Linked DNA regions of Homo sapiens: region 2 is linked to region 1. Evidence: promoter capture Hi-C in 16 types of primary human blood cells and fetal thymus (Javierre and others, 2016). All regions are on one chromosome and are shown on one strand. Each heading gives the region's core, a stretch centred on a gene start or on the middle of the fragment in contact. The rest is flanking DNA. Distances are from core to core; before and after follow the strand shown.

The links. The method cuts DNA at HindIII sites, captures the fragments that hold promoters and counts their contacts. A CHiCAGO score of 5 or more calls a contact.
Region 2: a contact is called between a fragment that was not itself captured here and the fragment with the promoter of PRICKLE2-AS3 in region 1, in 1 of 17 cell types (megakaryocytes). The highest score is 6.2, in megakaryocytes.

The regions. Positions count from the first base shown.
Region 1 is chr3:64,185,948-64,189,307 of GRCh38, reverse strand. PRICKLE2-AS3 (PRICKLE2 antisense RNA 3) reads right to left here and starts at 1,764. Exons shown (of 4, transcript NR_046702.1): 1 at 1,703-1,764. The region is part of intron 2 of PRICKLE2 (prickle planar cell polarity protein 2); the gene reads left to right. The HindIII fragment of the contact is 1,976 bases long and covers 914-2,889 here.
Region 2 is chr3:64,361,109-64,364,791 of GRCh38, reverse strand. No RefSeq gene overlaps it. Among named protein-coding and RNA genes, the nearest start is that of PRICKLE2-DT, 82 kb to the left of the region's middle. The HindIII fragment of the contact is 1,085 bases long and covers 1,475-2,559 here.

The DNA of each region.
Region 1 (3,360 bases), core at 515-3,014:
TCTTTTCCCCACCTCCAGTTTCCCCACCACTGCAGGAAGCAGCATGGCCCTGCTTCAAAGATTTGTTTCCCTATCGACAATCTCTGTTTATCCTTATCTCTTCTCACTCTCTTACCCTGGCTTTACTGTACTTCCTCCAGGGGCTCTCATGTTACTGGTACAGACAGCGTCACGTACCTGGGCACTCAATAGTGACATTCATTCAGCAAATATTTTTTGAGTGCCAACTATATGGCAAGTACTTTCCTAGGCACTAGGGGACAGCTGTGAATAGAAAAGCAAGTACTTCTGCCTTTGTGGAGCTGACAGTTTAGTGAAGGATGCAGACAACTTAATAGCTGAATAACAAGACACATTCAGAGACCGACGTCTATTAACAAAGCAATAAGAAAGGGTGATATGATCTGGAGCAAGGAGTTGACAGGCTTTGTCTGTAAAGATCTAGATAGTAAATATAGGCTTCATGGATTGTACAGTCTCAGTGGCAAATACCCAACTCTGATGTTGTAATGTGAAAGCAGGCATTGGACAATAGGTGAACAAATGGGCATGGTCATGTGACAATAAAACTTTACTTACAAAAACAGGAAGGGGGCCTGATTTGAAACACAGACCCCTGATTTAGAGAATCTATCTACTTTATATTGGATGGCTAAGAGAAGCCTCTCTGCAGAAGTGACATTTGAGCTGGGACTTTACATGGAATGATGGCTTGATTACCCAGATTTGGTCTGCCTCGTCCCGTGGTTTTCAAAACGAGGTTCCCATACCAGTAGCACTAGTATCACCTGGGAACTTGTTAAATGTAGACTCTTGGGACTTGCCCCAGACCAAATAAACCAGAACTCTGAAGATGGAGCCCAACAATCTGTTTCAACAAAGCTTTTAGGTGTTTCTCATGCATGACAAAGCTTGAGAGCCATTACTGTTGGCTAATGGAAAAGCCACATTGCTAGGAATAGATGAGGCCACATCTAGACTCCATCACTTAACTCTGTAACCTTGGGCATCTCAAGCATCAGTTTTCTTAGCTGTAACACGGGGATGCTTCTGCCCAAGTCTAAAGTAGCTAACAGAGAAGAAGTGAATTCATCTTTGTAAGGATCCTAGGACAAAGCAGACACCAAATAGGTCCTCAGCAAATGGTAGCTGCTGTCCTCATCAGAATCATTATTTGAATCTCCAAGACACTGAAGCAGATTTGCGTGCAGATACGGATGAAGGGTGTGCCCCAGAAGCTACCCAATCCCATTCCTGTCTTTTTGCCTTTGACTGGCATGCCCTGGATATCACCCAAATACAAGGCTGATTGTTAAAGGAAAACTCAAGATGCTTTTAAAAGTCTTTCATTGGCCCTGTTTCTTCAGCTCCCTTTCTGGCCTGTTAACCTAGAGCATGCGCTGATACCTTTTACTGCAGGACCGTGAATTATACAGCTGTGACTCACCACCACCCGGCTGGGGCCACAGTGCCAGGCGTCCAGCTTTACCGTTAGCTTTCAGGCTACTGACAGTTTGCTCTTTTATGTGAGAAGCTATTTATACCAGGAGGGACAAAGGCTGGCAGATGCTGGGGGAAGGGAGAGAAGAATGATAAAATGGTTCATCTCCCAAGGTCTGCTGGGTGGTTTTGGCTTATAGGAAAGGAATGCACAATCTAATAGCCCTTCTAAAACCCCCATAAAAACCATCATTAGACTCACCAGCCATTTGCAGAGTGTTGTCTTTATTTCATTACTCCATCAGCACATGCTGAGATCAAAATGGAATTTCATGGTACAGGGAGATGCATGTCTCTCCAACTGAATTGGATTAAATTCCCCCTAAGCTGCATCTCCTAGTTAGCCTTCACTGTCACTCACCTCGGTGTTTTCAATGCAGTTTGAGAGATGAGTTGGGAAGGGAGGGAAGAAGGGGGCAGGGCAGGAGGAGGCTTCAGAGCAGTCCACCTCACTCTTCTTGGGAAGCTAGTCACATGAACAATGCTGTATTTATCTTGGCTCCAGAAATACACTGATGTCATCAGATGGCAATGGGAAATATGCCTGTGTGTGCAGCTTTCACTAAAACTGCCTGTTAATAAACTTGTTTTCAACGGAGCTGTCAGAGTTGGGACTAGAACCTGGGTTCCCAGGCTTCAGGGCCTCTGCCAGATGAAGTCAGCAGCAACACGGCCAGATTCCACCAGCAGGGACTTGTCAAGGCTTGCGTGCAGATTATGAGGCCTAGAAAGGCCAAGGCTCATTTGCAAATGCAGGATGAGAGACCTGCCATTGGAGTTCTAGCTTTCAAGACAGGTATCTCCAACCTTTACAGTAAATTCACTCTGGGGTCCTAAAGTTTGGGACTTGGCCTCTTACTTAGACTTCCTGCATAAATTCACAGCTGCACACCCTTTCTGCTGACTGGGCAGTCTACACTGTAGCCTGGTGTGAGAGTTAATGTAGTATCAAGATGATCTCCTCTGCCTTATGACGCAGGAGATATTTTGAGTAATTTCATGGGATGATTGGATTAATCCACCACCAAATCAGCAAGTAACTAACTTCCTTCCTCAATCTATTTATCTGCCTGTGCCTTCCTTTATGCATTTATTTGTGCATTCAGCCATTTATTCGTTCAACAGTTGTTTATTAAGTACCCATATGTGCAAGCTGTTAGTATAGGTGTGATTTCAATATGGCAGTTTTCCAGGTCCAATCAAAAACTGGAGCTTTCCAACACCAGTCTTTATATGTTGCTTTAGGTGGCCTGGAGCCATACAAAGGTAGATGTAGAAAGTGTCTCATGGAAGACCCATGCAGACATCAGGCTTTGTGCTGGCCTCCGATAACTTCTGTCTTTTGAGTAACTATCCTTCTGGGCTCATAAGTGTTTGAGAGTCTAAGCTTCGATGATAACTAGCTCTGTGTTCAAATTTTAGCTGTGCTGCTTTCCAACATTGGCCAAGTTAATTCACCTCCCCAAACTTTCATCTCATCTTCTGAAAAACAAGGATGTCAGTACTTAACTACAGCATAGTTGTGAAAATTAAATGAAACAATGTTTTAAACATTTGGGGTTTTTAAAGTGGCTGCTCTTAGTTTTCTTTTCCATAGTCAAAAATTGGAAATAACTCAAAAGTCTATCCACAGGTACATGGATAAACATATTGTATTATATCTATATAGTATACTACTACTTCACAATAAAAGTGAATGAACTGTTGATCTATGCAAAGTGAATCAGAGTCTGAGAATCATTATTCCAAATGAAAGAAGCCAGGCAAAATAGTACACACTATGTGATTTCATTTATATAAAACTCTAGAAAATGCAAACTAATCTGTAGTGACAGAAAGCAGATCAATGGTTACTTGGGG
Region 2 (3,683 bases), core at 768-3,267, 180 kb before region 1:
TATTCCCTCATCTATAAAATCCTTTTCCTCACAGTATTTTGGCAAGGAACTGATGCATTTATGGCCATAAAAAGAACTTGCATGGAGGTACTGTGTGCTGAACACCAAGAGCCATGTTTTAATAGTTCAAGAAATGCTCCCTGAACTTAGTAAAATTACATTGCAATGAAGGCAGTGCATTTTGGTCGGTGTGTGTATTTGGTGCATATATGTCAGAAACCGGTGTGTTTAAGAGAGGTGTTGTGATCAAAGAAGCACATTTGGCAACTGAAGGTAACTGCAAGATAACATCCATCCTTTCTTGCTCTTCTCAAACATAATGAAGGGATACTCAGAAACAGTTCTTTACAAACCCTATTTTCTCCACCTATCCGCTTCCCCCTCCCATTGTTGGTTCCTGTCTATCTTTCTCTTTCAAGTGCCTCAGAAAACACTATTCCTTCAGCACTAGCCCTCACATCTCTCCAGTTTCTCCTGCTTCATTCTCACTTTCTCTCCATTCAGCTTTTCAGAGATCTAAACAAAGTCCTCTGGAAAATGCAGCTCCTGCTCAGTCCTCAGACTTCATCGTCAGAATACAGGGAGGGTATAAGGTGGAGATGAAGACACTAGCAGGGCAAATCCAGGACTTGCATCCATAGGGTGAGGAAGGGTGGGAACATTTGTGTATCAATATTTGTCTCATCACATGGTCACCTGTACCTAATGCTGCAGTATGACCTTACAAGATGCTATGGGATTTCATAGTAATGGCCACCAACTCCATCTGGAGAAGTCCTGGGAAACCTCCCACTGGAGGTCTTAGGCTTGGAACTTGGAGTTGAGAGCCAGTGCATTAGCATGACAGCATGAAGCAGTGCACTGTGAATTAGGGAAAAGAAAGACATCCTGGGTGACTGGAATGTCAGAGACTTGGGAAGTAAAAGATAAGTGAGGCTAGACAGGGTTTTGGGGGGCTGAATATGGTATGAGCTAGCTCAACCCAGAAAATCTCTATTCCCTTGTTTCAGATGGCTCCTTAAACCTGCTAGTTGCAAATGATACTTACCTCCTATGACCCTAAGGTGAGGGGTGTGAGATGATGTGGGTCACCCTGGGCAGCCAGGCCTGACCCCACAAAAACTACAGATGTATGCTGGTAGCACCTTCCGTTTTCACAGAAGGTAGTGTTTAATGTTTATTTTCCTGGTTTCACAGTCAGATCACTTTAGGTCACAAGGGACAGAAACCAAACTTAAAGTGACTGATGCAAAAAAGAATATCAGCTCATTTAACTGAGCAGTCAGTGACTGGGGAGGTGGGGTGGGTGTAGCACTGGCTTTAGGCCTGCACACAGGTGGTATGATGATTTCAGTAGAGTTCTCCCCACCCATGAGGTTCTCTCTCCTCTCTCTCCTGCTGTCCCTGGTCTTACCTTCTCTTGGGATAGGCCCCCTTCTTGTGCTTGCAGGAGGGCCCTCAGCAGCCATAAGCTTACATTCTGTTAACATAGTACCCCAGGAAAAGAGAGATTTCCATTTCCAGACACTCCTGCATGCCTCATGAGATTTCCTTGCTCTGAGGTGAGGCACATACCCATCCCTGAACTTTCTAACCATAGGAGGATGGATGGACTATGCTGATCGGCCAATTCTGGCTCAATTTGTACTGCTGTGGGAGCTACCCACAGAGACTGGGAGCAAGAGGCAGGCGGACACCCAGAGGAAAACCTAGGTACTATTACCAGAAGAGTGAATGGATCTTGAAGAGATTTAAACAACAGATGGCCCTAACATACAGCTTCCTTTTCATCTCATATTATCATACGGATGAGCAGTGAGAAAAACGACCCCACTAGAGATCATGAATGTCACAATCATTAGGGCTTTTTATGGAGGGGAGGGGAGAGGTAGAATGACTGCAAGGAAGTAAGTACAGCAGGAAAAGATTTGCAAAGCAGCCCAGCCACTTATTGTGTTTTTTTTTTTTTTTTTTTTTTTTAGTATCTTCTTTGCTGAGGAGTCTTAAGCAAGAAGAGAACTTGATTGCATCTAACTGCTTGTAAAAGTGTTCAAAAGACATTTCATCACACAATTTAGATGGGTAAACACCTGGGAGGTGAACACTATGCATCCAAAGTGACAAACAGGGTGGGAAAGCCTTTCTTCATATTGCAGTTATTTAGGCTTTAGCCATTGCAGCCTGTGTTCATTGCTTAAACTAGAAGGAGTTGTGTTAACTCAGGACAGATGGTGCTTAATACTGACCACACATGAAGACTGGTGGCCCCAGGCTCCAAGGTCAGACAGAAGGCAAGACAGATTTGCTTCCATATGGGATGGGTACCATTAGATGCTAGGATGCTGTAGCTTAGGAGTGAAATTACGGTATTATTTTGGCTACGTGGATATTATTGTTAATCTTGGTAATTTTAACAACCTTGTCATAGCAGGGCTCTCCCATTTACCTAATGCTTTCAGACACCTCTGTTCACTTTATCCTCACAATAGTCGTGTGCAATAAAGTTTGTTTATGTCCATTTCCATAGATACTGAGTGACTGACTCAAGATCTCAAAGCTTTATTGTGTTCGGGCCAACACTTGAGGGTTTGTATCCATGGCTTTGACTCAAAATCCAGGATTGTTTCTACCATTCCGTAATCACTTGCCCAATAGCCCTCCTCAGTTATTAAAGTGATGCATTTCTTTATGTGTCAGGCTCCATAATTAGACTGTCCACATTCAAGGCTTGGCTCACCTTTCTATCCATAGGAGACTTAGTAATCTTCCCCAGCCATCCTTGACCCCATCCTTTTATCTCCAATGCACATACACCCAATGATTCAATGCAGGAGGGAAGAAAATATTAAATATTTTATTCACATTTATTTTTAGATAACTAAACTTCAGTAATCTGTAAATACTTTTATTTTGAAATAATTCTCAGAAAGTTGCAAAGGTAATACTGAGAGCTCCTACATACCCTTCTCCCTGCTTCCCCTAGGGTTAATATATTACAAAATCATTGTACAATATCAAAACTAGGAAATTAACATTAATGCAGTGCTATTAGCAAAACTATAGACCTTATTCAAAATTCAGCAGCTTTTCCATGCATGTTGTTTTTTCCTGATCCTGGATCCTAGCCAGGATCTCACATTGCATTTAGTTGTCCTGTCTCCTCTAGTCTCGTCCTCCAGTCTGCCACAGTTCCTGTCATTGTCTTTCCTAGAGTGTCCTTCCATCTGAGTTTTCTGATATGTTTGCTTGATTAAACTGAGGTGGGCTTTTTTTTTTGTTTGTTTGAGACAGGGTCTGCCTCTGTCACCCAGGCTGGAGTGCAGTGGTGCGATCTTGGCTCACTGTAACCTCCGCCTCCTTGGTTCAAGCGATTCTCCTACCTCAGCCTCCCAAATGGCTGGGATTACATACATGTGTCACCACACATGGCTAATTATTGTATTTCTAGTAGAGATGGGGTTTCACCCTGTTGGCCAGGCTGGTCTCAAACTCCTGACCTCAAATGATCCACCCGCCTCAGCCTCTCAAAGTGCTGGGATTACAGGCATGAGCCACCATGCCTGACCTGAGGTTGGCTTTTTTGACAAGACCACAGAAGCGATGCTGTGCCCTTCTCAGTGCAGCATGTTGGGGGTAGGCGATATGGTGACATTACTGGTTATGCTTACTTTGATCACTCATTT